2 separate regions of the Homo sapiens genome follow, and region 2 is linked to region 1. Evidence: promoter capture Hi-C in 16 types of primary human blood cells and fetal thymus (Javierre and others, 2016). All regions are on one chromosome and are shown on one strand. The core of a region is centred on a gene start or on the middle of the fragment in contact, and the rest is flanking DNA. Distances in the headings are between cores, read along the strand shown.

Region 1 (4,453 bases), core at 479-2,978:
AACCCGGATGAGCCAGAGGAAGCCCTGGTCTCCCCACAGGCCTCTGCGTGTGACGTGAGGCAGGACCGGGCAGTAGAGGGCAGAAAAGCAGGACAGCGGCTCTGGTCTGCTCTCTCCCACCGGGCTAGGCAGCGGGACAAGACCAGGCTGAGAGGGTGAAGGCCCAGAGGAGGAGCTGGGAGACGATGCGCAAACAAGGGAAGCCCAGAGCTGAGCAACAGGTGCCAAGGAACTTCCACATCAGAGCCTCCAGTCAGTCCCAGGTTCCAGGGCTGCCCAGGTCCTCACGCCGGTCACCCACACACTTGCCACCCTTTCTGTCTACAGCGTTCCCAGTCTAGGGAATGACGTAGGGAAAAAGGCTGCCAGAGAGAACCGAGTGTCGACCAGGGCAGGAACCCCACAGGCACCTGGTGGTGGAGGGGGACCTGGGGAGGCTTTGATTTGAAGAAGAGCAAAGTTGGGGAGGGTCCTGGAGAAGAGAGAGGGGGCAGCCCCGGCAGGTCGGTGCTGCAGCTTGAGAAGCCCACTGTGGTGCTGTGTGTGGGTGGGGAGGTTAAGAGCAGAAGGGAAGCAGGGAAACCACAGGCTTCTGGAGCCCAAGGAGTAGATGCCAGACCAGACCCGGGCCTGGCCACTGGCACATATGGGACTTACGGACGACGCTTAGGTTTTCGCCCTGAATAACTGGGTACAGGGCAGGGGAAGGGGTGCTGGATCGCTGGGGGACCCGCAAGCCTCGAACTCAGGGAGAAAGTGACTCGGAGGAAGCCTTCTGGCGGCCTGGAGGAGCTCGGGAGAGCAGCAGACCCAGCCTTAGTCAGGAGGGGCCTTTACTGACTATGGAGGCCCGGGAGGGGCTCTGGGCAGAGAAGGGACCGGCCCCAGGCTGGTGCTTTGGTGCTACTCTGGTGCACAAGAGGGATGCGGTGCGGGGGGAAGGTGGAGCGGCGCAGCAGGTGCGGGGAAGCGGTAGGGGCCCAGGTGTCCGCCGCAGGCGGCCTAGATGGAGTTGGCCCCAGGACGGAGGCCGGAAGGGACCAAAGAACAACAGGAGGGTCCGCGTGCTGGGAGCCAACAAAGAGCCAAGGTGGGCGACCGAGAGACAGGAGAGGGTCGAGGAGAGCAAAGCACCTCGGGGCGCCCGCTCCGCCGTCGGTCTTGGCCCAGCTCTAGCCGCCCCTGGCCACCATCCAGGGGGCCCAGCCCGGCGGTCGGTCTAGGGCCGGGTCCCATGACAGGGCGCGGTACAGGTTCTGGCGGCGGCCCCAGGAGGAGCCGTGGGGGACGCTTCCCGGGGAAAGCGGCGGCCGGGGCGGGAGGGCGAGGGCCGAGGGCGGGGCGGGGCGGGACGGCCTCGCGCCCCCAGGACCCCAGCCTCCCCGCGCCGTGTAGCCGCTCTCCTACCTGCCCGCCCGCCCGTTGCCGGGCTCTGAGCCCGCGCCGCCGCCGCCAGGAAGGAGGGGTCCGCGTCTGCTCCACGCCGGGGGCCAAGCCTAGCTGCTACCGCCGTCGCGCTTCTAGCCCTTGATGGCCGCCGGCGCGCCGGAGTTTCAAACGCCGACGGTTGCCTTCGCGCGGCCAATCAGCGCGCGGCCGGGGGCAGGACCGCAGGAGGGCGGGCGTCCAATGGGAAGCTGTGCCTCGCCGGCTCCGCCCTCCCTCCCCCCCCACCCCCCGCTCGGGCGCCGACGGTTCCGTTTCCGGAGTGGAGGGCACGCCAGGGTGTCTGAAGCTGAGACCCCGGGCTCGCAGTCGCCCCATGAATTTCGAGTTCCGCAACTGACGCTACTGGGCGGGGCTTCATGGCCAGGGCCTCGCTCAGGCCTAAGTTTCCCCACCTGTGCTCAATGCACAGGTGCGGTGCCGCCTCCAGGGCCGGCCGAGAAGAGAGGCCGCACCCGCACGGGGACTGCATCTCCCAGAGCGCCCCGCGAGCGGCCGAGCGGCGGGACTCCATGCCCTAGAGTGCCCCGCGGGCGGCCGGGCGGCGGGACTCCATGTCCTAGAGTGCCCCGCGGGCGGCCGGGCGGCGGGACTCCATGTCCTAGAGTGCCCCGCGGGCGGCCGGGCGGCGGGACTCCATGTCCTAGAGTGCCCCGCGGGCGGCCGGGCGGCGGCCGCCGCAACCGACAGGTCCGGGACTGGGCGCTGCGGCCTCGTCCGCGCGCCGGGGCGGGGGCCTAGCTCGACAGCTTCCCGGCGGCTGCGCGATGGACAGCCCCGAGGTGACCTTCACTCTCGCCTATCTGGTGTTCGCCGTGTGCTTCGTGTTCACGCCCAACGAGTTCCACGCGGCGGGGCTCACGGTGCAGAACCTGCTGTCGGGCTGGCTGGGCAGCGAGGACGCCGCCTTCGTGCCCTTCCACTTGCGCCGCACGGCCGCCACGCTGTTGTGCCACTCGCTGCTGCCGCTCGGTGAGGCTGCTCGGGCCGGCCGGCCGCATCCTCTCCTGCGCAGGGCTTGCTGGGAGGTCAGGAGGAGGCCTCCGCCAGCTCCCCGAGGCCCCGAAAGCGCCTGGGCGCAGCTGGGGAGAGGCGCCGGTCCTCATCCAGAGGGACCGCGGCGTGGGCTGAGCGCGCTTAGGGGCGCCGCCGGCACTGACTTGCAGGTGACGGGAACCCAAGTTCAGAACCTTGGGCAAGGGATGCTCCGGCCCACCAAGTCCTGAACCGTCACGTGCCTGGGGGTTGCAAGGCCAAGCAGCCCTTGCTTGTCGTGGTTGGGGGCAGTGGCCAGGAGAAGGCAACTGTTGATTGAGTCCAACGGAAGGGGTCGGAGGGGCTGTGTGGAGGGTGGCACTGCACTAGGCCTTGGAAGGTGGGTGTGGAGAGAACAGGCGGATTTGGAGGCAGTTCCAGTTTGGGGGCGCCACAGGGGCAGAGGCTGGGGAGGGCCTCTGTGCAGTGCAGGTGGGACGCTCAGAGTTGTCCAGGGGGGTGCTGGGCTGGGCCCCAGGTGCTAGCTGGGGCTCTGGAAGGTCCCTCTCTCAGCTGATTGGATGACGGACAGGTGGGAGGTGGGGTGTGCAGTGGCTGGAGGGGGATTTCAAGGGGGTACCTCTGGAGGACACGGGGGCAGACGCAGCCCTGGGAGGACAGATGGCCAGTGGCTGGCCAGGTTTGCCACTCTGGGGATACAAGAGGGGTGACCCTCCACATCCTGGTTTGAGGATGCAGCTGCCTGGGCCCAGAAGAACTGGAGGCAGGTGTCGGGTGGAGGCGCCCAGGCCTGCCTCATGGAGAGGGTGGGCTGGGGGCCCACTTGAGAGATGGATGGGGCTGAGTGGGGCTGGGGCCCTGACCAGGCCACTTTCTAGGGCTACTGGGTGGGTTTCTGTAGCCCTTCCAGCTGCACCCTCCCCAGAGGCCTATGAGGGACCACAAGTGAATTGTGGCAGCCACACCTGGAGCAGACAGCACAGCTGGCCTCACAGTCGGATGTCAAGCTCTTTTTATTTTTAACTTAGTTTGAAAGTTTTCAAGCTTTATTAGGTATTAGTTACCTGTTTTATTTTTATTTTTACTTTTTGAGACGGAGCCTCGCTCTGTCACCCAGGCTGGAGTGCAGTGGCATGATCTCGGCTCACTGCAACTTCGGCCTCCTGAGTAGCTGGGACTACAGGCGCCCGCCACCACGCCCGGCTAATTTTTTGTATTTTTTAGTGGAGATGGGGTTTCACCGTGTTAGCCAGGATGGTCTCGATCTGACCTCGTGATCCGTCCGCCTCGGCTTCCCAAAGTGCTGGGATTACAGGTGTGAGCCACTGCACCCGGCCCCTAGTTACCTATTGTTATATGTCATGTTACCTTGAAATGCAGTGACTGGGCCAACTCCAAATGTGGACTATTACTTTTTGCCAACTGGAACCTGCTGGTGCAACTCCTCACCATCTCCATGGCTTATTTGGACCTTCAAATTGTCCTCGATCTGGCCAGCAGGGCCCTGAAGCTGGCTCCGTGTCCTCTGGACATGTCCCATCATTCTTTGAGACTTGCTTCCTTTCTCGCACATAACTTTTCAGCTCTGGGATGCACCACATTTGATCAGCCTCCTCAGAGCGGGTGAGATTGAGAGACTGAGATCCTGTCCAGGCAGCTGCCCTGGCAGGCCAGGGGTCAGCTCTGCCTGAGGTGACACCTGATTGTGTTTATTTTTCCCTTTCTAGGCTTTTGTAGTTTTTTCAACACTTACGTATTGTGTGAAACTAAAGCAGCAAATTAAAAACCTTTTCCGCTAATATATCCTGCCTTTGCCACAGGCAGGGAGAGAGTGGCCGGCTGGGGAAGTGCAGAGTGGGTAAAGCCCAATTACCCTGGGAGCTGACCCTGGAACCCGGGCAGAGGGCCAGGTCCAGGGCTGTCGGGGGGTGGACAGCGGCCTGCCACTCACTTTCCCCTGAGGCTCACCCTGTCCTTTGCAGGCTACTATGTGGGCATGTGCCTTGCGGCT
Region 2 (4,237 bases), core at 1,101-3,600, 180 kb before region 1:
TGCCCCCACAGGAGCTCAGGCCTCCAGCCAGAGACCAGAAGGGGACATGTACGCAAGGACCACCAAGGGGCCATAAGAGGCTGACTGGTCAGCAATATTGGACTGGAGCATTGGCCTAGTCTGGCCTGACTCTAGACGCCACACTTCCAGAGGGTGCACAGATCAGATCACAGGGTGACACTAACTTGCTCAGTTCTAACTCCGCACTCGCCACATCGCAACTTGCTCAAACTAAATTCCAACTTCACTCTAGAAGAACTTTCAGAAAAACCTCAAACCACATTATCTTTTACTATTCCTCTAAAAACACATTTATGGGTTGACCAACCATTATTTGCTCTGTATCAGGGACATATAACATTCTTTTTTTTTTTGTGAGACAGAGTTTCGCTGTTGTTGCCCAGACTAGAGTGCAATGGCGCGATCTCGGCTCACTGCAACCTCCACCTCCCGGGTTCTAGCGATTCTCCTGCCTCAGCCTCCTGAGTAGCTGGGATTACAGGCGTGCACCACCACGTCCGGCTAATTTTGTATTTTTAGTAGAGACGCGGTTTGACCATGTTGGTCAGGCTAGTCTCGAACTCCTGACCTCAAGTGATCCACCCACCTCGGCCTCCCAAAGTGTTGGGATTACAGGCGTGAGCCACCGTGCCCGGCCGTACATTCTTAATATGTTACATCAGCCGCTCCATGTAAAAATCAATTTATCTACCCAAGCTTCATAAGACAAAGATGATCACTTCCAGTGTTTTCCATTCTTCCCATAGGCCTAATAAAATTCACTTGGACATTTTTACAACTTAAACTTAGCATAAAACACTCTTGCTGCAAATCATCCTGAAACAAGCAATCATCGTAACTAAATAATAAACTATCATAAAAACAGAAGTTATACAAGGCAAAGGTCATGTGTCCCTTAACACTAATTCAATCAGATGAAGTACATATTTGAGTTGAATATAAAAAGAAATGGCAACACATCACACTTGAATCAATCACTAACTTTAGGTAAAGCTGCAAAAATGAACCATAGCAGGGCTATTTAGAAAGAGTAAGAAAGAAGCCTGGAGATGAGAAAGATTAAGTGCAGAAGAGAAAGTTGGAAAAACAACCCAAAGAACACAATACCTTTAAGTTTGGTATAGCTGTGAAGGAGTGGATCTGCAGAAACCATGCAAGGCCACCAAGGGTAACCCGACACTTTGGACCACACCAAATCACCAACGTTGTATTTCAACAGGTGGTCTTTGTCTCTTCCAGTGTTTGGACAAGACTCTTTCTTAGCTGGAATCTGAAAATGAACAACAGAAGACAAACACTAACACATCCAATCACTACCTGTGTATCCAGAAGACCAAGGATTCACCAGGCTACAATGTCCAAATACACACAGACCCCCAAAAATGGAGTGTGCTCCCTTGCTGTGTTTTAGATGATAGCCTCAACATCGTTTCATCAAAATTTTGTCTCTCAGGCCAGGTGCGGTGGCTCACGCCTGTAGTCCCAGCACTTTGGGAGGCCAACGTGGGCGGATCACGAGTTCAGGAGATCAAGACCATCCTGGCTAACACAATGAAACCCTGTCTCTACTAAAAATACAAAAAATTAGCCGGGCGTGGTGGCAGGCGCCTGTAATCCCAGCTACTCAGGAAGCTGAGGCAGGAGAATGGCGTGAACCCGGGAGGCGGAGCTTGCAGTGAGCCGAGATCACGCCACTGCACTCCAGCCTGGGCGACAGGGCGAGACTCCATCTCAAAAAAAAAAAAAAAAAAAATTTCTCTCTCACTCTCAGCTAAAGGATCAGGACAGTGCATAGCACACAGCAGGTGTTCAACATTTTGAAGATCTCTATATAAATCTATTTCCTTGGCCTAGTATTAATAGACGGTCTTTAATGGTACTTTATTCAACTGGTCGAAAAGGAATTCTCACAGAATTCCAAATCCATACTGACTTCTGCCCCTCCAGTCATGTCTGACGATCAGTTCTCAGCAGCCCATGTGTCACCAACATGAACCATCCCAGTGTGGTGAGGGCAAGGGCACCAGGAGGACTAGGAGCAAGTCTCGGCTCCATCACATGTAATTTGAGTCCTTGGGGCTCTCTGAGCCTCAATTTCTCCATCTCTAGAACATAATGGGTAGGTTAAGGCTGAACATTCCACCAAAGAAAAACTCCTCCCCACAAGCCACTCACAGTTCTGCTCTCCAGTGGAAATAAGCACAGCCAGCATGGCCCCAACCCTCCAAGGGTGAATCTCTAGCCTTGCTCAAGAGCACTATACACATGAGTAAATTGTTCCACTGCCTCAGGCCTCAGTTTTCTCACCTGTAAGCTGAAGAGGCCGGCCCAAAACCTTGCCATAAGCATGCTGGTGAAGCCTGGCATGAGCTGCCACATGACACATTTTCATGTTTTTTTGATCCTCCCATCTCAGCCTCCCTAGTAGCTGGGACCACAGGCAGTGCCACCACGCCCAGCTAATTTTATTTTTTATAGAGACCGGGTCTCGCTATGTTGCCCAGGCTAGTCTTGAACTCCTGGGCTCAAGCAATCTTCCTGCCTCAGCCTCCCAAAGTGCTGGGATTACAGATGTGAGCCACCCCATCAGGCCTGACATACTTTCAGAACAGCTACCAGATTACTGCACAGCAACCCAGGTTTACATTTATTGACCCCACTCTCCAGAGGAAGAGTCAAAATTCAGGTTGAGTTACTCAAGTTTTAACAAAACCAAGGGACATGGCTAGGAATAAAAGCCAGATTTTTTTGTTTGGTTTGTTTTTCAGTTGGAGGAGAAAGAAAAAGCCAGCTCTGATGCAGGAACATCGTTTGAGGTCAGGAGTTCGTGAACAGCCTGTGCAACATACCAAGACCCTGTCTCAAAACAAAACAGCTAGGACTCTGACAACTTGCACAGGCCTCTTCCCAAGCAAAAGCATGAGGTTCAATACTGCTGTGGGCACTTCAAAAAATCTTTGTAGGCTGGGCATGGTAGCTCATACCTGTAACTCGAGCACTTCAGGAGGCAGAGGTGGGAGGATCGTTTGAGCCCAGGGGTTTGAGACCAGCCTGGGCAACACAGCAAGACCCTGTCCTACAAAAAATAAAAAATTAACTGGGCATATAGTGGTGCACACCTGTGGTCCAACTACTCAGGAGGGTGAGGTAGGAGGATCACCTAAGCCTGGGAGGTCAAGGCTGTTGTGAGCCATGATCACACCACTGCCCTCTAGCCTGGACAACAGAGACCATCTCAAAATAAATAAATAAATAAATAAAATTTAAAAACTTCACCACTGCCATTACATGAGCGAGAACTAAACAGCTCCTGAGTAATCAAAAAACGTTTTTTTAACCCTCAAAGCTCTTCATTATTTTAACAATTTCAAGGAGTTACAACTAAAAAGCAACACCCTATAGACCACCAGATGAACAGAGACTGCTGCCCCATCAAGAGTTCCTTCCTTCTGCCAAAGCCATGGCCCCTTGGTTGTTTCCTATGGCTTATACTCATCCGAGTGTCAGGGCCATCCCGAGTGCCACGTGAAGGCGTGGAGACACCATCACCAGGCAGAATGGAGCAGCACCACCACACCTTTCCATCGCAAGTTAGGATAAGGAAACACTCATTCGCTTGTGTTCAGTGTGCTGGGCTCTGCACTGGGAACCAAGAACAGGAGGCAAAAGACACATCCCTAGGCCTCAGGGAGGCAGGCCATCTGCTGGACCACCTGGCTGAGGAGACAGTAAGTGGACACTGGACCACAGGGTAAGGACAGCGGGAGCACCTCTGCACAGCTCTGCTTCCCACTCATCAGATGGTGCAGACTTAAGAAGTCACACTCTAGAGCCCAGCCTGTCTCCACTGACCACATCAGGCTAAAGAACACCTTGGAGATGAGATCCATGAAAAGAGTGTAGCCTGACGTTGTCAAGCAAGGGCTCTGAAACTGGCAGAACCACGTTAAGAAACAAGCTTTGCCTCTTTTTAGCCATTTGAATCTTGAACACTTAGCTCACCTCTCTAGACCTCTCAACTGGCTCAGCAGCCAGCTGAGAACTGAGGAGGCAGTGCCAGGGCATCCTGGAGCCCACCCTCCAACCCAAAGCCAGGGCTCAGGCAAGTGGCTGGAAGTACCAGGCCTGTCCTCACCTTCTCCGCCCGCCCCAGTACTCGTGCAGGTGCCCTCATAGGGTGGCCATGCTCACTGCTCAAGGTCACATGACCCCTTAC

Evidence for each region. The method cuts DNA at HindIII sites, captures the fragments that hold promoters and counts their contacts. A CHiCAGO score of 5 or more calls a contact.
Region 2: a contact is called between a fragment that was not itself captured here and the fragment with the promoter of TMEM129 in region 1, in 10 of 17 cell types (activated CD4 T cells, naive CD8 T cells, total CD4 T cells and 7 more). The highest score is 7.2, in activated CD4 T cells.

What each region holds. Positions count from the first base shown.
Region 1 is chr4:1,718,598-1,723,050 of GRCh38, reverse strand. TMEM129 (transmembrane protein 129, E3 ubiquitin ligase) reads left to right here and starts at 1,728. Exons shown (of 4, transcript NM_001127266.2): 1 at 1,728-2,418; 2 at 4,425-4,453. The coding sequence starts at 2,214. It overlaps TACC3 (transforming acidic coiled-coil containing protein 3), which reads right to left and starts at 1,530. Exons shown (of 16, transcript NM_006342.3): 1 at 1,408-1,530. RefSeq lists enhancers at 700-1,695, 2,778-2,877, 3,518-3,597 and silencers at 1,318-2,127, 2,138-2,187. The HindIII fragment of the contact is 17,725 bases long and covers 1-3,488 here.
Region 2 is chr4:1,901,270-1,905,506 of GRCh38, reverse strand. It overlaps NSD2 (nuclear receptor binding SET domain protein 2), which reads right to left. Exons shown (of 22, transcript NM_001042424.3): 3 at 1,129-1,291. Among named protein-coding and RNA genes, the nearest start is that of NSD2, 32 kb to the right of the region's middle. The HindIII fragment of the contact is 3,262 bases long and covers 720-3,981 here.